Linked DNA regions of Homo sapiens: region 1 is linked to region 2. The links are contacts of gene promoters, found by promoter capture Hi-C in human tissues and cell types (Jung and others, 2019). All regions are on one chromosome and are shown on one strand. Each heading gives the region's core, a stretch centred on a gene start or on the middle of the fragment in contact. The rest is flanking DNA. Distances are from core to core; before and after follow the strand shown.

Region 1 (6,391 bases), core at 1,602-4,101, 270 kb before region 2:
TGTTTTGTTTTGTTTTGTTTTGTTTTATTTTATTATCTTATCTTTGAGACAGAGTTTTCACTCTTGTTGCCCAGGCTGGAGTGCAATGGTGCAATCTTGGCTCATTGCAACCTCTGCCTCCCAGGTTCAAGCAATTCTCCAGCCTCAGCCTCCCAAGTAGCTGGGATTACAGGCCCCCACCACTATGCCCAGCTAATTTTTTTTGTATTTTTAGTAGAGATGGGTTTCACCATGTTGGCCAGGCTCATTTCGAACTCCTGGCCTCAGGTGATCGACTCACCTTGGCCCCACAAAGTGCTGGGATTACAGCTGTGAGCCACCACACCCGGCCTGATAGTTTTATTTTAATTGTCTCCTGCATAGCTCATCTCTGAGAAACTTTCTCTGTCTGGTTCAGAGTAGGAAGGAGCACAGAAAATGTCTGTCCAGTGAGGGAAGGAACAGAGAGTTTAGTTAAAAAGGACGACATTTCTCTCTCTCTCCGCTGTTTTGTGACACACACACTCTCTCTCCACTCTCATTTTCTCCCTCTCTCTTGGGAGCACTGAGAAGCAGATGAGCTCCTGCTCCTGCCCCTGTTGCTAGGTGATCCCCCCAGTGCTCCTGGGAGCTAAAAAATGACTCATTCACGAAGCAAAGATTGCAAGCTAAACATAGGAGGATACATCAGAACAGGGCACAGACTCTGCCTTAGGGAAGCCCGCAGCCTGCGGGAGCACAGGTGTGCAGACAGATGATTACAAGGCAGCGCTGAGTCCCTCAGAGAAGAACACACAAGCATGAGTCCAGATGAGTAGCCCCAAGCCCAGCCCACGGCAGGGTGGGAGCAAGGATGCTCTCCCAGAATACGCAATGCCCATTGAATCTCTGAGGTTAAGTAAGACTTCATGAGAAAGAAGCGCTGGTAAGAGAAAGAAATACCATATGCAAAGATGCACGTCCAGAAAGCAGCTCAGTGATTCTGGGGGCTCCACATGACCCAGAACAGCGGGGAAGAGGGTTGAGGACAGGAGCAGCCTCTCAGGGGCTGACTGCGGGGCTGAGTGCTGCTGGCTAACATAAGTCCCCTCACAGCCTTTAAAGGGGACCATCTTCTGTCTATAGCAAATTCCCCCAGGGAAGGACTCTGATGGACCCACTTTGGTTCACAGGCCCATCCCTGAGGCAGGGGAAGAAGCAGTGGTTTTCAAAACTTGGCTACATTTTACTTATTTATTTATTTATTTTGAGATGGAGTCTCACTCTGTTGCCCAGGCTGGAGTGCAGTGGCATGATCTCAGCTCACTGTAACCTCTGCCTCCCAGGTTCGAGCAAGTCTCGTGCTTCAGCCTCCCAAGTAGCTGAGACTACAGGCACCTGCCACCATGCTCGGCAAATTTTTGTATTTTAGTACAGACCATGCCTGCTCAAAACTCCTGACCTGGCTGGGTGAGGTGGCTCACACCTGTAATCCCAGCACCTTGGGAGGCTGAGATAGGCAGATCACGAGGTCAGGAGATCGAGACCATCCTGGCTAACACGGTGAAACCCCGTCTCTACTAAAAATACAAAAAAATTAGCCGGGGGTGGTGGCGGGCACCTGTAGTCCCAGCTACTCAGGAGGGTGAGGCAGGAGAATCACTTGAACCTGGGAGGTGGAGGTTGCAGTGAGCCGAGATCACGCCACTGCACTCTAGCCTGGGTGAAAGAGCAAGACTCCGTCTCAAAAAAAAAAAAAAAAAAAAAAGAAAGAAAGAAAAGAAAAAAAGTTAAGGGCTGCTGTGATCAGGGGAAGGAGGGCTAGGCAAACAGAAACCAGCAACAACAGACCCACTTCGCCAGAAGCTCAAGCTGGCATGGGCCAGTTGAGGCCACTGCAGGCATGGAGCCAAGGAGACCGATAGGATGGCAAGGGGTCTGGCCTAGGCTTCCAGTTCGTTGCTCCAGATTGAGATCCTACCAGGAGGGTCTTTGCAAAGCTCAGAACTTAGATCACTCAGGAAGGGGCCTGGCCATCTCTTCCTGCCCGAGCGGGTGGCTGGGGTGGCTGGGATGCTGCATAGAGCCCTGGTGCAGGAGGTAGCCACTGTGAGCCCAAACCCAGCTCTACCCTCATGCAGCCCTGTGCTACTCCTCTCCTGGGGACCTCAGTCTTCCTGCCCATAAATAAAGCTCTTCCAGCAGCAATAGCCTCTGACCTTTACTAGGTCTAGCCTGGCCCAGCCCCATCCATCCACCCACGTCAGATCTGTAACAAGTCCTGGAAAGGAGTTTGAGCACATCTCACTCCTGCTCTCCTGGGGAGTGGCCCAGACGAAATCTCAGATGAGGGAAAAGGGACGATTTGGAAAGACAAGAGAGTGAAGTAACCAAACGAATGCTTTGAGCAAAAATTCAAAATTCTGTGTAATTGGAAGGCAATATTTATACCAACCGTGGACACAACAGCAGTGATAGGTCAAGGAACACAGGCTTTCTTAATACTGGGTGAAAAAGGACAAAATTTATAAACTGGCAGGCCTGAAATTTTGGCCACAAGGGCCTGGCAGAGCAGCTGTCACCAACCTGAGACTGCAGCGTTACCATGAAGGCTGAGTCCTTACTGTGCCGGGCACTGGTGTTCCGGGGTCCCGGGGTCTCTTGGCCTGGGCTTTTACGATCTTGCTGGGCTGAGAGAACAGATCCTCTTGCTGATGGCACCTGTGGTCAGGATGGGGGCCAGCCATCGGCAGATGGCCAAGCTGACATTATTTGTTATTTAAGTTAATCGTCAAGTGTCTTGTTTTAATTCACCTGAAGGACCTCAACTTGCAAATTGTAATTAGCCAGAGAGAGAGAAAGGGCACAAGTACAGTCTTCCATCTATCTAACAAGACCTAACAAGGTCATCGGCGTGTGGGATCAAGAGACGCAAATGGCTGCTTCAAGGGAACTCACGGAGAAAACAATTGCCTGGAGATGAGTTTGTGCATCTGAAAGTGTGCCCGTTGTGGGAGAGGATCTCCATGCCCAGCCTGTCCGCCCTGTGAACGCTCATCACGCCTTCCTGCCTGGGCCTTCAGCTTTATTTTTGTGTGTTATTAAGTCTTGGGTTCAGAGGGAGATCCAGAACTCAGTGGCCCAAACTGGTGACCAGTATGGGATCTCTCTCTGTGGGCGCTGAGCGTGTTGGCTTTGTAGATTCACTCTGGGAAGCCCTGGACCGAACGCTCTCACCCATGGGGACCTAGTGCATCCAAGGATGGCCTTTTTGTTCCTTTGAGAGGCACTATGCCTTCCAAGAAATCCATTTGTCCCCCCAGGATGACACAGGATACGACCCCTTCCCCAGGAATCAAACCACTCGTTCCCTCAGGATTGGGTCATTTATTGATGCCCCTGTTCAGCAACTACAGTCATGTGCCATAGGACGTTTCAGTCGATGACAGACCGCATATAAGTTGGTGGTCCCATCAGATGATAATACTGCATTTTTACCGTCCATTTTCTATGTTTAGACACACAAATACTTACCATTGTGTTACAGTCACCTACAGTCTTCAGTACAGTGCCGCAAGTGCAGGTTAGTAGCCTAGGACCCACAGGCTAGACCATGTAGCCTAGGTGTGTGGCAGCCTCTACCATCTAGGTTTGTGTGAGTACACTTTTATGACATTTGCACAAAATCACCTAATGACGCATTTCTCAGAACGCATCCCCATTTGTTAAGCGACACATGACTATACTTAAGAGCATGGACAACAAGCCAGGGTCTGGGCCAGGTGTGGGGATTCAGCAAGAAGCAAGACTGGCTTGGTCCTTCCTTCAGGACACTGACAGTTCAGGGGACAAGTAATTACAACTGCAGTGAATGTTGTGAGTGGTAAGCACATCAGTGGGGCAAGAGCGTGGACCAGAGCGAGTGATCAGGGGGCCCAGACCCCCTAAGGAAAAGTGACTTGTAAGCCACACCCCCAAGATAAGGAGGAGGGGATGGAAGAGCCTCCTGGGCTCAGCTAGCGGTGCGTGCAGCGTTACCCTGAAGGCCTAGTCCTTACCGTGTTGGGCACTGAGACTGGCATGTTAGAGGAAATGCTTTTGCAGCTGAACCGTGGACTCAACAGAGGAGAGGAAGTAGAAGAAATAGACAAAGCCAGTTTTGGTAGCCCTTGTAGGCATGAGCCCTTTGGCTTCATTCTGAGGATAACAGAAGACCATGAAAGTATTTTGGAGGAATTGCCTTTTCCTTTTGGTTCCAGAGAGATCCTTTTGGTTCCATGATAGTGATGGATTGTAGGGAGCGGATGCAGGGCAACTCCAGCATTGAGATTGGCTCCTTTTGGATACTCAATTGCTATTTCAGATTATTCAGCTACTTTTGAGTAGAATAAAAGAACTGGGCCACAAAACATCAATTGTGAAAAGTGGAGAAGCATGACACAAATTAAGGAATTATTGGGTGAAATCTGGCTTGAGGGAAATAGATTAATCAGGAGGGCACCTAGTGTAACAACCAACCTCAAAATTTTCAAAGGCAAAACACCATAAAAGTTTAGTTTTGCTCATACAACCATCCCCCAAGGGTGTTTCTGGTTATAAAGCTCTCCTGGATGGCTCTCCTCCAGGGGGTGACTCGGGATCCAAGCTCCTTCTAGCTTGCGGTGCTGTGGGATTTTCTGCATCTGGCCAGCAGATGATGTAAGAATGTGGAGATTCGCATGAGGAGGTTTTCACAAATCAGGCCTGGAAGCAGAGTATGTCACCTCCATCCACATTCTATTGACCAGAACCTGAAGACAGGCCTGCACCTCACTGCAAGGAGGCTGGGTAATGCAGGCTACATGTAAGCCCAAGAGGAAAAGGGAAGTGGTTTGGGGGAAACTAGCCTATCTCTGTCACAGAGGAGCTGCCACTGGGAAACTCAGACCCGGAGAGGAAAAGTTGTTTGCTGATGGTTACCCTTCAGGTTGGTGACAGCAAGGAGACCAGAATCTTACAATTCTTGATTCTCAAATCCATCATTTTCCCCTTTTCTGTAGTGGGCATGCTTATCAATATGTGGTGAGGTCATGCTGCTCTGAAGTGTCAGGAAATAGAAAATCAGTCCAGCAAGCTTTTATGAGGGCCTGCTATTGCAATTGGTAGAAAGACAACAAATAGGCCGGAGGCGGTGGCTCACGCCTGTAATCCCGACACTTTGGGAGGCTGAGGCAGGGGGATCACAAGGTCAGGAGATCGAGACCATCCTGGCCAACATGGTGAAACCCCATCTCTAATGAAAATACAAAAATCAGCCAGGCATGATGGTGCGCACCTGTAGTCCCAGCGACTCAGGAGGCTGAGGCAGGAGAATCACTTGAACGCAGGAGGTGGAGGCTGCAGTAAGCTGAGATTGCGCCACTGCAGTCCAGCCTGGGCAACAGAGCAAGACTCTGAGAAAGAAAGAAAGAAAGAAAGAGAGAGAGAGAGAGAGAGAAGGAAGGAAGGAAGGAAGGAAGGAAGGAAGGAAGGAAGGAAGGAAGGAAGGAAGGAAGGAAGGAAGGAAGGAAAGAGAAAGAGAGAGAGAGAGAGAGAGGGAGAGAGGGAGGGAGGGAGGGAGGAAAGAAAGAGAGAAAAGAAAGAAAGAAGGAAGGAAGGAAGGAAGGAGAAAGAGAGAGAGAAAGCAAGAAAGAGACAAATATATGATTTTCTGCCTTCAAGTAGCTCACTGTTTCCCAGGCAAAGGGGACCATGTGCCAGGGGCATTCAGAGTAGAAAAGAAATGGTATCCGGCCCCTTAGGAGACAGCGGTGAGCTGAGCCTCAAAGGGCAGGCAGGGCTTTTGTGTTTGTTTCAATTTTGTTGTGTTTCTGGGGTTTTTTGTTAGTGTTGTTGTTTTGGTTTTTGTGCTTTTTCTAGTTTTCATGGAGGTGCCATTTGGGCTATAGGGCCCTGGCAGTTAAGGACATTAAATATTTATTCACAACCCAGCGTGACCTCTCCTGGATGTCTATCTCAGAGACATCTCCTCTCACACCCTGCGTCTCGCATCTTATGGTACAAAAAGAAGCCCTGCCGCCCCTTGAGGCTACTCCAGCAGTGTAGTTTGGAGGATCAGGGACTTTGAGACCACCAGGGTGTCCATTGCTGAAGAAATGCATGAGAAAAATGTGGTGAATTCTCACCATGGAAAAACATTGTGCATGGTTATAAGCAACTATTACAGACCATTGAATATACTTCGGTGCTAAGAGAGGAAAGAAAAAAAAAAACCAGACTGAGAGCTACGGCACGGAATTAGTCATGTTAATTAAAAGCAGATATACACAGAATAGCACAACATGTTTTATAAGGATTCATGCATATTTAAGAACATATATCAAATACATGAGGGAAAATGCCCATGGGGGAAACAGAATGGTGGTGGGAATCAGGGATAAATGAGAAAAAGGTT
Region 2 (6,245 bases), core at 1,517-4,016:
CCGTTTTTTTTTAATAAGCTTTTTATATTTCAACAGTTTCTCTACTTATGTCCTTTTTCGATTACAGGGGCCAACCCAGAATACCACATTGCATCTAGTGAACTCACTTTTTAAGACTGAGATGAAATTCAAAGAACATAGAATTAACCATTTTTAAATGAGCAGTTCAGTGGCATTTAGAACAGTCACAATGTTGTGCAACCACTACCTCTATCTAGTTTCAAAACATTTTCCTCAGGCCCTGGCAATCAGCAGTCTGCTTTCTTTCTTGTTCCTTTTTTATGCTTTTCACAGCATTTAGCACAATGCCATATACCTACCTAGAAGACACTCAGAATAGTTTAGTTTTAACTTTTTATTGAAACGAAATATACATACTAAAAGACACAAATAAGTGTGGAGCTTAATGAATTTTCACGAATTAAACACAGCCATGTAACTCACACCCAGACCAATAAACATTAACTGCATCCAAAGAAACCTCTTTAGTCTCCCCCTGCCGCCTTTTTTTTTTTTTTTTTTTTTTTTTTTTCTGGAGACAGGGTCTTGCTCTGTCATCCAGGCTGGAGTGCAGTGGTACGATCACAGCTTACCGCAGCCTTGACCTCCCAGGCTCAAGCAATCCTCCCATGTCAGCCTCCCAAGTAGCTGGGACTACAGGTGTCCACCACCATGCCCAGCTACTTTTTGTAATTTTTGTAGAGACTGTTTCGCCATGTTGCCAAGGTTGGTCTTGAACTCCTGGGCTCAAGCGATCCACCAGCCTTGGCCTCCCAAAGTGCTAGGATTACAGGTGTGAGCCACCACACCCAGCCTAATCTCCCTTTCAATCCTCCCCATCTCCCCAGTGGAAATCACTATTCTGAGTCCTAACAACACAGCTTAATTTTGCTTGATTGTGTAGTTAATATAAATGAAATCATATTATATACTATTTTGTGTCTCACTTCTTTTACTCAACAATATGTTTAAGATTTATTCATATTATTGCATTCACAATACTGAAAGATTAAGGTAAAATGTTTCAAAAGGTGGAGGCTGGGGGGAGAGTGGGAACAGGTCTTTCAGTCAAGAAGAAGAAAAGACATGGGGGAAATAAGCTACACCAAACAGCAACATTTTAAAATTTCCCGTTCTATTTGGGTTCTTAGATGGTTCTAATTATTTTTAGTTACCAATAACCTCAGGGAAGGAATGAGTGTCAGGAAAGAAATGTCGGGCAGGGAATCTAGGAAAAAACAAATAATAATTGCCCCTATGGAGTGTGGTTATTAGCAGGCATTGCAGAGAGAGCCCAGTGTAACATGGGGCAAATTATTTAATCTAGCTGGCAATTGTTTTCCCAATCCGTAAAGTGAGAATAGTAACATCGTTGCTGTCAAGATTAGATAAATGAATGTAAAATGCATGGTACTGTCCCTGACTCTTTAATGCACAGCAAACATTATTTGCTTTCTATCCCCTTCCTTGTTGAATACAGATCAGAACTCCAGTAGCTGGAAACTAAGCAGTGTCATATTTCCCTAGCCTTACGCCGCTAGGCCCCTTAAATTTAAAATATAAAGTATACAACAGGTTTGGGGTACAGATTTTGAGAAATTTAAAAAAAAATTTTTTTTTGAGACAGAGTCTCCCTCTGTCACCCAGGCTGGAATGCAGTGGCATGATCTCAGCCCATTACAACCTCCGCCTCCCGGGTTCAAGCGATTCTCCTGCCTCAGCCTCCCGAGTAGCTGGGATTACAGGAGCCCGCCACCACGCCCGGCTAATTTTTTGTATTTTTAGTAGAGACAGGGTTTCACCATGTTGGTCAGGCTGGTCTTGAACTCCTGACCTCAAGAGATCCGCCCGCCTTGGCCTCCCAAAGTGCTGGGATTACAGGCGTGAGCCACCGAACCGGGCTGAGAAATAAAATCTGAGAATAAGTGTAATGTAACCCACTAGTGTCCTCTACATTTGAAAGTCAACTTTTCAATAATCCCTGAAGAACCACCTGAAAGGCATTGCTTCGCTAGGGCGATGATGCCCGATCGCCATTTTACTCATCCAATCCTACTGGTTTACCCAGGCCCCATAAGCCTCACCAGATCCCTCTTGCCTCTGCACATCTCCAATCTCCATAAAGACCTTTGATCGGATCTATCATTGTACCTATCATAGGTCTGATGCCCCTATCAAGACTTGGAGTTTTCCTAAACGCCCATGTCTTTCACATCACATCTCTCAACTCATAGCATTGCCGTACCCTGAGAAATAAATGAAGCTGGTACAAATTTTCTCTGAAAACTTGGAAGCCTGGCGCTGAACTCAACAACTTTAGCTTAGTCCGCAAAAATGGACTTAGCTAATACTGTGTTAGGCATAATGGTGCTGTTTTAACGGCTTTGACATCCAATTATTCTTTCACCAAGCCATTAACCAGAGCCAAGTTTGCCCTAGGCTGGGCAAAGGAATGCTGTGAAGTGAAACCTGGGCTGTAACCGCCTCCGAGGCCGGCTCACACCCAGGGACCCTCCCAAGCGGTTCCTGCGCCCCCTCGTGGCCTCCCTCCTGCAGTTCGCTGCACAAGCGCAGGGCCCGGAGCGGGGACGGGCGGGCCCTCCAGGCCCTCGACACACCCAATTGGCCAGGCCTCGTTGCGTGTGGGCGGGGCCGCGGCTGGAGCGGAGGAGCCCCCCAGAAGACCGCCTTCAGGGGGCGTGGCCTGGACTGTGGAGGGGGCGGACCGTGGGGAAGCTGCTTCCGGGTGAGCCCCCCCCGCTCTTACGCGGTCTGTGGGAGACCGGAGCGGGAGACAGCGGTGACAGGAGCAGCGGCCGGGAGCCCTTAGGGAGGCAGGTGAGCGGGGGCTGGATGCGGGGAGATAGCGGGCCTGGAGGGCGGCTCCAGGGCGAGGCGGGGACTGTGGCACCAAGAGTCCTGCGTCCCCAGATTGTGCTGTGCGCCTGAAGCCCTGGCGGTGCAGCCGTGCACGGAGTCCCGTGGAGCGTTTGTTTGGGCTGGATTATCCCGCTGCAGCCGAGGTTGGGGGCCCGGGTTCGGGGCTCCGCACCTCTTCTCTGGGGTTCACCCTCTCGGATACCGCCTGGGCAGACTCCATCGATGCAGAACCCGAGGTGCGGGTGGTGGTTGGTGGGGGGGTAGGGAGGTGAAAACAATAACAGCCGTTTTGTACTAAGCGTTGCGTGCATTGACCATTCATTTATTTTATTTATTTATTTATTTTTGAGACGGAGTTTCGCTCTTGTTGCCCAGGCTGGAGTGCAATGGCGCGATCTCAGCTCACTGCAACCTCCGCCTCCCGGGTTCAAGCGATTCTCCTGCCTCAGCCTGCCAACTAGCTGGGATTACAGGCGTGTGCCACCACGCCTGCTAATTTTTGTATTTTTAGTAGAGATGGGGTTTCTCCCTGTTGGTCAGGCTAGTCTCGAACTCCCGAGCTCAGGTGATTCGCCCACCTCGGCCTCCCAAAGTGCTGGGATTACAGGCGTGAGCCACCACGCCCGGCCTGACCCATTCATTTCTTACAACAACCCATTGAGGTCGGTTCTAGTCCCCATTTACTAAACGAAGAAACTGAGGTCACACAACTAGAAAGCTACAGAACTAGGATTTGTACCCACATCTATCAGACTCCAGAGCCCACATACTTAACCATCCTGCTACCAACAGCAGCCAGGCCCAGAGTCTGGCTCACCCAAAGCTCTCCACAAGCCCAACCTGCTGGGAAACAGATTTGATATCTATCCTTAAAGTATGGAGGTGTCATGGTGGGCACTGAGGACTGGGCTGCTGGAGACCTTCCCCCAGATCTGCCGCTGACCCACTGCGTGATCCTGGGCCTGTGTCTACCCCTCTCTGAGCCCAGTTTCACCCTTGTTTCAGTGATACAATCAGCAAACTTTAAGAAGACTCTTAGCCAAGATATTCTAGGATTCTGGGAATGGCAGCTTCTCCTACGTCTAAATGGCTAACCCCAGAGGCGATCAGGCTCTTCAAAGCCCCAGGGCAAGGCTGGGGTCTCATTCTTCTCTTTAATCCCTGTGTCTAGCACTTCAGCAGGCCCATAGTAGATATTCAAGAAATGTGGGTTGGCTGAATAAACACTTCATCTCTTTTCAGAACTGCATGACAGCTGCTCTCCTGGGCCTTTGTGGGGCTTTGGATTTCTCAGTTCTGGCCACCTTCTATCTAGCTGGCTCTCCTGACTGCCTCCTCCCTGGCCAGTGGCAGAGCCTGCCAGGGCTGGCAGCAGGTCCTAAGCCTCTGTGCGAAGACCCACAGCCTCTGGAATCCTCAGCATAGTACAACTTGCAGGGGTGGGGGGTGGCACATGAAGCTCATAGCCCCTCCTGGTAGCAGTGCTCAGGGCCCAACTTCAGTTACTCCCAGTTTGGGGATGTTGCCTTCCATGGGAGGAGATACTTTCATATTAAATCTGAAACACTTCTTATCCTTCACTGTCCCCTCTTCCATGAAACCACCCTTGACTCAGAGACACAGTCCCTCTGACAGCACCTGGTCCACCCCTCTACTCTGGCAGCCCGGTGGTGATTATTTTGTTTTTCCTCCACCACATAACCTGCTGGAAGGCAGGGACTCCACTTCAGAAATCTTGGAAAACCCTGTGGCCCACAAGGGTTTGAGCTCATATTCCCATCTGGTGAGGTGCAGAAGGCACAGAGCTGTGCCAGGACATCTCGTTCCAACCCAGCCCCACTCCTAATAGTAATAAAAGTAGCTACATGTTTACTGTGCAGCTACTTGGTGCCAGACACCTACCTTATCCCTATCAATAATCTCCACAGCCTTGCAAGTTAGAGATATCATGCCTATTTTGTAGATTATGAAATGAACACTGAAAGGTCAATTACTTTGCCCAAAATTACACAGCAGAGCATAGACCAAACCTGGGACTGTCTGACCCTGAAACATGGATCTTTCTGCACCGCCCTATACTCTGCGTCCCAGCAAAGCTAACCTGTCTGATGTGGTTGGGCAGAGGTGCTGGACCTCCTGGCGGCTCGCTCCTGTCTTCAGTGTGGTAATGTCACAGGCATTTAAATTGTGGTTTGCAAGCTCGCTTGATTTGGGAGAAGTGCCCTCCCAGTCTGTGAAATTCTCCCAAACTCTAAGGGCCTTTTTGCAAAGCAAAACCCACCCTGCATTTGGCTCTGCCAATATGTGATTCAGGGGGTGTTTTCCCACTCACAGAATGGAGTGGGAAACTCCACTTATTAAGTACCTCTTACAATGGAATGACTCTATGGTGTAGGTATCAGGGCACTGAAATAGAAGCCAGGAGCTGCAGGGTCAGTTTATAGCTCTGTATGTCACTCACTGTGATCTCCAAAAGTCCCGTTGCCTCTTTATACCCCATTTTCCACATTAAAGTGTAAGGGATTAAACAGGATTGGCAATTTTCAAGCTTTTAATATTTTCAGCACTGACAGCCGTTTCTCAAATCAAATCTGTCTCTGAATCTTAAAATTCAAAAACAGATCAAAGTGGACTGCTGTAGTGAGACTGTTCCCTTTACTCTAACCCTGCCCCGGTCTCAGGCTCCTAGGCAGTCCTGCCCCAGGGTTTCTGCTAAGCAGGAGCCAGTTGTTCCCTCAGCCTCCTAAAAGCGATGGGGAGTTGAGGCCAGTGGAATGCAGCTTTGGATTCAGAAGCCAGAAAACAACAGAGATTGTTTGTGGGAAGTGAGTCAGAGAGATTAGACCTCTCTTCAACATCTGACTAGACTCTAGAATGGCATTAAGCAAGTCACTGAACCGCTCAGAGCCTCTGTTTCCTTATCACTAAAAGTTAGGACAATTCTTGCAATGAAATGAGATACTACTACCAAGTACTTCAGTGCTGTGCCCAGCACAGAACGAATACACTCAGTATGTTTTTCTTTTGTTTCTTCTGTCTCTCCAGCACCCAAAGCAGAAACAGTATGGGCAGAGAGACGCCTACTGAATCAGGTGTTTATCAGTATTATGAAATACAGTATATAAAACCCAGCATTTGGAGTCCAGAACAAATTCAAATTCTGGCTCAGTCACTAAGTAGCTATGTGGTCTTGGGCAACTGGCTTACATTTTGGTAATTCTCTCAATATGCAAAAATATTCTCTCGGCCAGGTGCGGTGGCTCACGCCTGTAATCCCAGCACTTTGGGAGGCAGAGGCGGGCGGATCACTTGAAGTCAGGAGTTTGAGACCAGCCTGGCCAACATGGCGAAACCCTGTCTCTACT

Evidence for each region. The method cuts DNA at HindIII sites, captures the fragments that hold promoters and counts their contacts. A contact is called where the count stands out against the background at its distance.
Region 1: a fragment that was not itself captured here is called in contact with the fragment with the promoter of ALAD in region 2 in 1 of the 25 tissues and cell types used here (IMR-90 fibroblasts).

The regions. Positions count from the first base shown.
Region 1 is chr9:113,668,155-113,674,545 of GRCh38, reverse strand. The region is part of intron 2 of LOC105376223 (a long non-coding RNA gene); the gene reads right to left. Among named protein-coding and RNA genes, the nearest start is that of ZNF618, 200 kb to the left of the region's middle. The HindIII fragment of the contact is 8,145 bases long and covers 1-6,391 here.
Region 2 is chr9:113,397,805-113,404,049 of GRCh38, reverse strand. It overlaps ALAD (aminolevulinate dehydratase), which reads left to right and starts at 2,766. Exons shown (of 12, transcript NM_000031.6): 1 at 2,766-2,838. RefSeq lists silencers at 2,455-2,814, 2,965-3,014 and an enhancer at 3,030-3,610. The HindIII fragment of the contact is 12,556 bases long and covers 1-6,245 here.